Linked DNA regions of Homo sapiens: all the other regions are linked to region 1. Evidence: promoter capture Hi-C in 16 types of primary human blood cells and fetal thymus (Javierre and others, 2016). All regions are on one chromosome and are shown on one strand. Each heading gives the region's core, a stretch centred on a gene start or on the middle of the fragment in contact. The rest is flanking DNA. Distances are from core to core; before and after follow the strand shown. Region 1 holds the start of TMEM131L (transmembrane 131 like). Region 2 overlaps ARFIP1 (ARF interacting protein 1). Region 3 overlaps ARFIP1 (ARF interacting protein 1).

The links. Contacts are between HindIII fragments. The CHiCAGO score rates a contact against its expected background, and 5 or more counts as called.
Region 2: a contact is called between a fragment that was not itself captured here and the fragment with the promoter of TMEM131L in region 1, in 4 of 17 cell types (total B cells, naive B cells, fetal thymus and 1 more). The highest score is 11.3, in total B cells.
Region 3: a fragment that was not itself captured here is called in contact with the fragment with the promoter of TMEM131L in region 1 in 1 of 17 cell types (fetal thymus); the score reaches 5.2 in fetal thymus.

Annotation. Positions count from the first base shown.
Region 1 is chr4:153,464,826-153,468,499 of GRCh38, reverse strand. It overlaps TMEM131L (transmembrane 131 like), which reads right to left and starts at 2,140. Exons shown (of 35, transcript NM_001131007.2): 1 at 1,979-2,140; 2 at 1,219-1,289. The coding sequence starts at 2,102. RefSeq lists enhancers at 450-509, 880-969, 464-1,129, 2,500-2,679 and silencers at 1,440-1,799, 2,170-2,269, 2,310-2,459. The HindIII fragment of the contact is 8,794 bases long and covers 590-3,674 here.
Region 2 is chr4:152,847,219-152,850,464 of GRCh38, reverse strand. The region is part of intron 2 of ARFIP1 (ARF interacting protein 1); the gene reads right to left. Among named protein-coding and RNA genes, the nearest start is that of ARFIP1, 69 kb to the right of the region's middle. RefSeq lists enhancers at 1-48, 2,760-3,246. The HindIII fragment of the contact is 1,321 bases long and covers 947-2,267 here.
Region 3 is chr4:152,781,713-152,785,105 of GRCh38, reverse strand. All of the region lies in intron 1 of ARFIP1 (ARF interacting protein 1), which reads right to left. Among named protein-coding and RNA genes, the nearest start is that of ARFIP1, 3.5 kb to the right of the region's middle. The HindIII fragment of the contact is 2,116 bases long and covers 212-2,327 here.

The DNA of each region.
Region 1 (3,674 bases), core at 891-3,390:
TATTTCTGTATCTTCCAAACCTTCAAAAACACATGTATATTATTTAAAATCGGGGAAAAAATCCATTTGGGAATAAATTTTTAGGAGAAGGAAAAACTATCTGCTCCTCATCCTGATGGGGCCCTTTCTCAAAAGACCTGTCTCATTCAGGCTGCTGGCCTTCAAGGAGGGTCCAGGAAAATTCTCCTCTAAAATCACCTCTCTGCCTTGAAGCTGTTATTCATTAGCCCTGATCAAAATGAATATTCTAAATATCTCAAAACCAGCACTCTGAATGTTTCACATAGGAGGGAGAAAACTGAAATGTAAAACTGGACAGCCTCTCCGGTAAAGTTATAGCTAGACATCCTGTTTTTCTAAACAGCCGCAAGACACAACACAGAATTAAGTGCTGCCACCACCGTGGGAAGTAATGAACATCTTAAAAAGTACTGCACACAAGCTAAATATTTCCTTATAATTCAAGCCACTCCCACCCAAAAAATGCATTTTGGATCACTACCGTTACTGGTGAAAGGCAGTCAACAACATTATATTTAAATGTGCACACTTCACAGTCAATGGGAATTTCTTGTAAAAGTTAAAAGCTTTGCAGTACTGTATCTGTTGCAGCAATAAACCCTCTATGATGCTACAGATTCCCAATAAAACGTCAGTAATTATTTTTCTACACGCAATCATCATATCATCATACAGAGAAAAAAACCAGAAATTCAAGTTCTTAAGTGGGTGTATTTTAACAGGAATTAAGGGCACTTGGAGAAAATCCAAGATGACAATCCTTGAGAGTCACATCTCCATCCCAAAGCTACTTAACGCTAATGGCAAATACCACTCTAACATTTATGAAATCAATACTCCTGTTGTCCTCAACCTCTTAGCCACTTGCCATCCACACAGCACCAGCTCACTTAGGGAACAGTGTGCACCCAGGACACCCACGGCCGAACAGACCGCTGGCCGCTTCCCTGCTGAGGTGGCCTGGGTTCCCACCTTCTGAACTTGGGGCCGGCCTGCCTCAGGCCCTGTCACATGGCGTGGGAGGAGCCGGGAAGGCCACCGTTGCCAGGTGTTCAGGCTCGGCCCCTAACGTTTATTTGCCTTGCAAAGTGGCCCGAACGCCTGTGCCGCTTGGACAGGGGGTGGGGAGGACCGGGGGCCTCCCCGCCTCTCCTCCCTCGTACACCCACAGCCGCCCTGTCACCTGGTCGTCCTCACCTGAGTGGGCAGCAGGAGTTCCCCTTCTTCTGCCTGCCACAGCTCCACCACGTTCGGCAACGGCTCAATCGCTGCAGGAACACCAAAAAATACACCACGTTTTTAATGCACGCTAAAGAAACGCTTCCTGTTTCCCCTACCGTCCCTCCGTGCCCCCCGCCTCACCAAAACACGTCTCTTTTTCCTCCTGGGAACAGAGGCCATCCCAGGGGCGAGCCAAGGATAAAAATACAATGGGTGGGGTGTGAGCCGGCGGCCCCTCGGACGCGAAGGCGACAGCGTGCAGGCAGGCTCGGGGTGCTCGTGCTGGGGGTGGGGGGACGAAGTGGGAGTGAAGACACCCCACGAGGCACTCCGGGCTCCGCAGCCCGAGCATCTGGAGTGTGGACCCTGGGCGGCCAGGCTCGGGGGAACAAAGCTGCAGGAAGCCGGGCCGCTGCGGGGCACCCGCGCGCGCCACACAAAGCGGGGGCTGCGCCCGGGGCGCAGGGGCCCGCGCACAAAGGCTCCAGGGCGCGAGCGGCTAGCGGTCCCCAAGCCCCGCGACTGCCCCGCTCTCCAGCTGTACGGGGCAGAGAGGCGCGGGACGGGACGCTGTGGTCAGAAAATGTTATCAGCGGAGAATCGCAACAGCTTTCCTTCCTCCTCCTGCCCCTTTCCCTTTCCTCCCCTCGCCCTCTTATAGATTTCAGCAGTTCCCTAAAAGAAAGAGCGGGGGCGGGGTGGAGAGGCAGAGCGAGCCCAGCGGCGCAAGGCTGACCTTGTCCCTGAGCCCCTCCCGGGCGACAGCAGGGCAGCAGGACCTGGAAGACGCCCAGCAGGAGGTTCACGGCCGCCGCGGTGCGGCAGTAGCAGCCGGGCTGCGGGCGTCGGAGCCCCGCCATGCTGCTGCTCGCGCTCCTCTCCGTTGCTCGCCGCGCTCGCCGCTAGCTCGCTGGCGCCCCAGCTGCCTCGCCCCGGGCCCGCCCCCGTGCCGCCCCGCCCCGCCCCGCCCCGCCCCGCCCCGCCCCGCGCCGCACCACCCCCGCCGCTGCCGCAGCTGCTGCAGCTCCAGACCCGGGCGCGCCGCTTGCTCTGAGCGCGTGTGCGCCGCAGATAGGGAGGGACGGAACGCGGCGGGGTGCGGGGGAAAGTGGACAATGCGAACCCGCGGGTGCCCCGCCCCGGCGCGGAGCACATGGCCGCGGGCCCGCCCCGCAGCGCGCACTCTGCGGGGCCCGGGCGCTTTCCTCGGCTGGGACGGGGTCGCTTAGAGCTGTCCGCGGGGACTAGCGGCCCACTTTTGCCAAGTGCATTTTCATGAACTTTTGGGTGGTTGCCGCTTTGTCGAGGCGCTTGGGCCACGGTCGAGAGATTACCCTCGAGGGAAGAGGTGGCGGTGGAGGTGGGAACGAGGAGTCGCCAAGCGAGAGGCCTTGGACACAGGATATTAGTGGAAATAATGCAGTGGTTGTCAGGAAACGCGAGTGCAGCCACATGGCCACTGCCAGTTATGCAGCGAGGATATCCGGTGGCTGCAAAGTCTGTAATTTAGAATAAAAAGAGCTCTCCCAAAACCCGAGAGGCAGACCTCAGCGCCGCGTGGCGGTAGTGCGCCCGGCACCCTCTGTGGACACTGTCCAGGTCCTGACAGGTGGGGAAGACTCTTCCTAGGGGATTTATAGCTTCAAAGACCCTGCAAATACTCCCTTTTGGAATCATATTGCAAAATTCAGCCAGCCTCTCCTGAAATATGGTTGGGGTCGAGGATGTGGTTAGTTGCCTGTTTCTAACATTAGTAGGATAATGGAAGTAATACGTGGAAATACATTTCCTAGTTCCAGGTTTTGATGCCTATAACTAACAAGTCCAAAATCTGGCATCTCTTTAAGTTAACATCCTGCCTTTACCAGCGATGTCGCAAACAAGGGCTTATTCAGAAATCAATTTGCATAACCTAGAAGTATGGGCAATCTTATGATTTTTTAAAGTTAACTTACTGCTTCCACTGTAGCTTGTATGAAATTCAGAGAATATGAACAATATAGTATGAAGAGGGGAAGTGATGGGACACACCTGTTTACCTTAATCCTCTGTTTAATTGCTCCTTGTGCCTTACAAGCCAGACTATAGAAAACCAGTGCTTGCATAGCAGACACAATCCTGAGAAGGACAAAATGAAATCTAGATCCTCTTTCCTAAAGACGTAATACAGTACTGTGAACACAGTCTCACACACTGTCTGCATTTAACTCCAAACAAGGTTAAATAGTCTAATTGCTTGGCCAGACTTAACATTTAAGTAGATTAGCATAAACGTAAGTTGTTGATGTGAAAAAAAAAAAGGGACACTTTGCATTTTCCAACTTGAATACCTCCAGTAGTCTCTGTTTCATACTTTTTTCTGTATTCCTTGCCAACATCTTCCTTTATTTAGCAAGGATCTCCAGTGCCATCTCAATGTGCCCTTTTTTTCT
Region 2 (3,246 bases), core at 358-2,857, 620 kb after region 1:
TCAACATTGTCATCTACCTTCTTTCCAGTCAATTTCAAATATTTATTGAAGACTTTGGCACATCTAGGGCTTCTGCTTTATCCCTAACTCTCACCATTAAACTGGGTGTTTCTAACCTTTTGCATGTTGGTGGGCACATTTTCAGGAAATGATTATAGATGTTCAGTTAGCAATTCCTTCCAAGCTGATATATTCGCTGTCTAGGCTGAAAGTTTTCACCGATCATTAAAAATACAGTCCACTAATGTTATGGTAGGTAGTAAGTTGCTATATTTTAAAATATAAATTGTAAAACACTTAAAATCTGTTCCATGAGCCTGCCTACCTATGCTGATGCAGAATGACAGGGGATAGTAATAATGATATGTAAAGGTATGTGATTTTATTTTCCCTCCGTATACTTGCAGAAATGCGTAAAATTGGTAATCTGGATCAGGTTTGGGAATCTGTAGTTGGACAACATGCCAAAAAAGTGTCAGGGCAGATAAAAGACATTTTAGACTTAGTATAACCCAATCTACACCTTAGTCTCAGATTTCATTAACATCTTCATTTCTAATGCCTTTCATCTTTCATACCCCATATTCCACTCAGGCAACCTAAACTCAAATTGCCACTCTTAGACCTTGTCATCACTTCGGAAGCAACACTTCTAGATTCTCACTTTAAATAAGTTTAATAACTCACTTTATGATCACAATATCCTCCTGTATCTTATTCCATCTAATCAAGAGAGTAAATCTAACATTTTTATTGATTTTTTTCCATTTACCACCATACACACACACACCTGCCTGCCACAGACACACAATTTCAATCTTCTTTTCTCCCTCTCTCCCATTCATTCAACAATATTTAACAAGAACTTACAAGTACCTTTTGGTGGTTCACTGCCTACCCTCTTGGCCTCACCCACTTAGTCTAGATTCTAAGTAGTTCAAAAGCTTGAATCATGTACCAACTTGCATCAAAGAAATACTGAATTCATTCACATACTATCACTGTGGAAATATTTATATGTATCTACATTCAAAATAATTCCTTCAAAAAATTTAAAAACGACATATTCCTAATAGCTTTTGTTTATAAATAACGACACACTCTCAGATTATAATTTAAGACAGATAAGCCTTCAACCTTTCATTATGAATTGTATTTTCAACAAAATTCCTCCAAGAAATAAAAAAAAACATATTACTAATAGCTTTTGTTTATAAATAAGGGCACACTCTCAGATTATAATTAAGACAGATAAGCCTTCAACCTTTCATTATGAATTGTATTTTCAACAGGACTCTCAATCCAGAATTAATTTAATGTATGTGTATATTAAAAATATACTTAAAATTTTAATTTGTAGTAATAGTATTAAAAGTATAGCCTATAGCTGAAAAGCAAACAGTATTAAAATGAATCTAGATTTGTATGGGTTAAACAATCCTTGAAAACCATTTGCCATACCTCTAAAAGGGATCAACATACATATTTGGTCAAAACTGGCTCTCTGAAAAAGCCCCCATCAAATCATTATTGCCATTGACCGAGCTACTACATTTTTTATGTGTGAGTAACGTGGAAACATTATATTGCATTCCTATATAGAATGGAGACAAACTGTAATCACATGCTATGAAAACCCTAGGGTAGGATGGCTGAAGGAGAAAAGATGTCAACTTTTAAGTCTATTTACTAGAATTCATTCTTTTATTGAGCAACTACTATGAACCAAAACTTGTGCTGTGTATACACACTATCTCTGACCTAACAGTGATTCCAATCTCTTGGGAAAAGGAGATAAATAAGTTACAACATGTGACTGGTGGGGGTAGGAGTTGGAGGAACAGTGTTCCAACAATTTCTTGTATTTCTTTCCCAAATCTTCTGCAGATCGTAGTGTATGATATTGCAGACTGCTAAGTACAAGGGAATGAAGAAACGACTTAGCTCAACAAAATCATTAAAAATAAAACTATAACAACAAAGACTCACACTCACAAACCCAAATACCACATGCAGGGAAATTAAGGACACAAGATGTATCAAATATAAGATTACAATATCTCTTCCCTGGTTTTTCAGAGAAGTCTAAAAATCTGGTTTCTAGTCCTCGTCCTCGTTCTTACGTGAATAAACATTCATTTATTCACCATTTATTGAAAGGCCCTCTTTGGTAGTAAGTGCCAAAAACTGTTACCAAACCCTGGAAATAAGGTAATGAAAGAGAGCGCTCTTGCACTCACTGCAGTTATAGTCAAATCACATAAGCTTTTGGTACAGCTATTTAATTAATACTGGGTAATTCCATAACAACTTCAAGGGCCTTTTTTCTCCACTATAAAATAACATAGTGAGACTCCGAGATCTCTAAGGTAGTTCTACTGAACGAATACTCTGTGATATCACTTAAAACTTACAGGTGGGGGGTTCTTAAGACTCAGGGAACCTGAGAACCCTTATGCAGGGTTCAGGGGGTCCTAAGCTCACTAAATCTGAATGCAAAATTTGGTAGGTTTGTGTATGGACATTTTGCTAGAGAAAGTGTTCATAGGTAAAAACACCCTACATTAGTGGATTTTTGTTTTGGGCCTTCCACGGGAAAAATTCCATTTTAGCTAGGTCTAAGGAGGCAATGTCTTTAAATCTACCAACTATAAATTAATTCACAAGAAGTTTCAACCATGTGGAGTTAGTATGATTTGCTTCTGCTCTTAAACTCATGGTATGAGTTGCAAATTTCTAATTAATTTTGACCAGCACTATAACAGCATCCATTACAAATACTACACACAGTTTACAAATCAGAGTAATTTGAATTATTTAGATTAAATTGTAATACTCTTTTTTAAAAGAATAATTTTTAAAAGAATAATTTTAAAGAATAATTCTTAAAATAATAATTTTATTTTTATTTTCTAAATAAAATGCATTTATTTAGAAGCAGAAATATTTTTGCTGTAAAAAACTGAGATAATACTAAGATGATTATCCTCTCCACATCTGGCTGTTGCTGCCCCATCTTAATAAAAAGAAGACACCGGGTGCAGTGGCTCATGCCTGTAATCCCAGCACTTTGGGGGACCAGGGCAGGAGGATCACCTGAGGTCAAGAGTTCAAGACCAGCCTGGCCAACATGGCGAAACCCTGTCACCACTGAAAATACAAAAATTAGCCGGGCGTGGTGGCACATGACTGTGGTCCCAGCTACTTGGGAGGCTGAGGCAGGAGAACAGCTTGAACCTGGGAGGC
Region 3 (3,393 bases), core at 20-2,519, 680 kb after region 1:
AACCAAGGAGGGCCTGGCTCTAGTCTGCCATACAATTATAATCATTTTTTATGTGTGCCATGATGAGTATCTCAGGCTAGCAGAAACTGGAGTTGGCGAACTGACTCCCTCCTCTGGAAGATTTAGGGCTTACCACTAACTCTGCTGCTTTTATGATCCTGTTCCAAAGGCAGTATGTCACTGTTCCCCAGGGACCAATGAGGCTCAAGCTTCAACATCAAGGAGCTGCTAGTCCAATGCTATCACAGATATACAAAAATAAAATATAAATTCTTATCTTAGGTGAGAACATGGTAAAGACACTGCCATATTTTCACAAAAGATTTGAGCAATTGCCTGTTTTGCAACTACCTTCAGATCCCCAAATCTTTGTCTTTCAAGAGAGGATCTGATTTTTTCCAAATACCCAAAGTTATTCAGATTCTGGTGACTGAGGTCACGAAGTGACGAAGCCAGGCAAGAACTTCATTTTTGTATGTCTCAATCTGAACCGACAGTCATACTAGAAGAAGATTTCAAAGCAGATTGCCTACTCTGAAAAACAGCATTCACTTAAATAAGTATGTTCATTAAGGGAAAAAAGTGTATTTCATAAAGAGACTTTATATTCCTTTTTCAGGAACAACTAAAGGTTTGAGCAACACCTGCCTATGCCCATCCTAAGACAAAGGCTTAGAAGGAATGGAGGAGAATGGAATGAGAGATGGGAGAAAGAGGAGAATAGGAATAAAGGAAAAAGAAAAAGAAAATAAATACTTTTGTCTCATAAAGAATATCTGTTAATCTGCAAGAGCCATTCGGCAGCTTCCATGACTGCCAAAAGCTACTAAAGATCAAGGAAAACAAAATTATTTTCAGGCCAATAGTCTTTTTCATACATCCAGAAGTAGTGCTACATATCTGACTTTTAGATTGTCATGATCCTAAGTCATCAACTTCCATATTAAGTGGAACAACTCACTTTCCATTCTGTACAAATATTTTAGTTTTTCATCCATAACCATATTAAAGTTTCCTGTTTAATTTACTCCTTCTTCCATTCTGAATTTATTCTTTCCATCCCAAATGTATTATTCTAAAATTTATTTATACTTCCAGACTCTTACAATGCCCAGTTTATTACTTATAATCTTCATTTTCACATTTTCCCCTCCTCATATACACACACACCATCTGCTTATTATTTGAATCTTCATTTCAAGAATTTATAATACTTACAATTCTTTATTTCAAGTAGGTGTGTGTGTTCTAACACACACACACACACACACCAGAGACTTATATCCATCCCCATAGGAAACCCCTACCAACTGCCTCCACCAAATTCACTTTTTTGTCAAACTTCTCAGTATGATATTCAACCAGATGTTCATCCACTGAAGATTAAGAAAGGAAACAACCTTTTCTCAACACCTGATAGAAAGTCAGGTGATATATCTCCAACTCATTTCAAAAAGGACATAATGGACGCATGGTAGAAGTTGTCTACAGTAGTAGTCTAGAGTCAGACAACGTAGGTGGAGCCATGCACTGGCTCCACCAGCGCAATTCTGAGCAGACTACTTTAGCTTCAGTTAATCATTCAGCTTTATTTTCTTCACCTACAGAAATGAGGACTTTAGCCACTTTATAAGGTTATCATTTGAGATAATAATGTAAAGCACTTAGCTTAATGCACATGGTAAGCAAATAAATGTAACTGTTACAGTGTTAGATATAAAATATCTTCCGAATTTGTCATTACCTTAAAAGGAAACTAATTTAGCATAAGCTAGTCTGTTGTTGATGTTGTTTTTGAGATGGAGTCTCACTCTGTTGGCCAGGCTGGAGTGAAGTGGTGGGATCTTGGCTTACTGCAGCCTCCGCCTCCTGGGTTCAAGCGATTCTCCTGCCTCAGCCCCTCCCAAGTAGCTGGGACTACAGGCATGCAACACACACCCGGCTAATTTTTTTATTTTTAGGAGAGATGGGGTTTCACCATGTTGGCCAGGTTTTGAACTCCTGACATCAAGTGATCCACCCGCCACAGCCTCCCAAAGTGTTGGGATTACAGGTGTGAGGCACCGTGCCCAGCCTAGCATACGCTATTCTCTATAAACTTATGTTGACTGCTCCCCCAAGTGAGGTTGCTAGACAGAGGAAAACTTATTCTGTGAGCAGAAGAAACTGGATACTCATGATAGACTATGATGAGCTGTATAGGTCTCTTCAAGTTAACATTCTAAAAAAAAAAGTATCAGACCTTTAGAACTGCAACCCTCAATCAACAAATAATTCACAACCAAATCAGTAAGTTCAAATATGTACTCTAAAACTTACATTAAGCTTGGAAGGATACTAACGTATTCACAAGAGAGAAACAATCATTAAAATATCTCATACAGAATGGAGGGAAAGGGGATGTCAAGATAAGCAACAACATTCCAAAGGACCACACCACTGAAACATCTTGTTTGTTTTTCATAGCAAAGCCAAATCAAATCCTAAGGTACATGCCTCAAGCAAAAAAAATTAAGAAAATGAAAGCAAAATACAACTAGAATTTAAATTTTTTACTCTGAACTGTGCCTAGTTGGTTGGTGATATTTAATACATATTAAAGATAGGCACATCAGTTTGTAAATCCACTGGATCTCCAGAGCATGGACCACAAACAGCTATCCCTAAGAAGAAACCTCAAAACCACAAATCAGGAAATAAAGTGGGCAGCCTCATTTCCTTCTGTAAGTCTAGGAAGGAATTTAGAAACACTAATGTTTTAAAGGAGAGATTTCAATATCAAACTAGAAGAATCCCTGCATTCTCCTTTCCTTGGTCCCAAAGCAAACAATTTACAGTTTGGGAAAACACACACACACACACACACACACACACACACACACCCCTACCTGTTTTCACTAACTTCAACAAGACACTGCCTAAGTGGTGGTTTTAATCTATCAAGAAGCTATATATCTCCTTTGCACAGTTTGGGAAAGCACACACACATACACACCTGTTTTCACTAACTTCAACAAGATACTGCCTAAGTGGAAAACACACACACACATACACACACAAAACCTGTTTTCACTAACTTCAACAAGACACTGCCTAAGTGGTGGTTTTAATCTATCAAGAGGCTGTATATCTCCTTTGAGAATTTGATAAAAACAATGGACACTTTCCCCAGGGGGGAAAAAAATTCACTCAAACAAAACTGCATATAATTTCAGGGGTGGGAATGAGGAAGACCCCTGAAAGTTGTTGACCCTTAGGCCATGAACCCCAAGTCATCATCCAGGATTAAGGCAAATCATAATCCAAGGAAAACCAGTTTATCAATTTGGAAAGAAACTAAAGTAACTGAGGCAGGGATTTAATCCACAAAATACATTAGAAATCTTTTCTCTT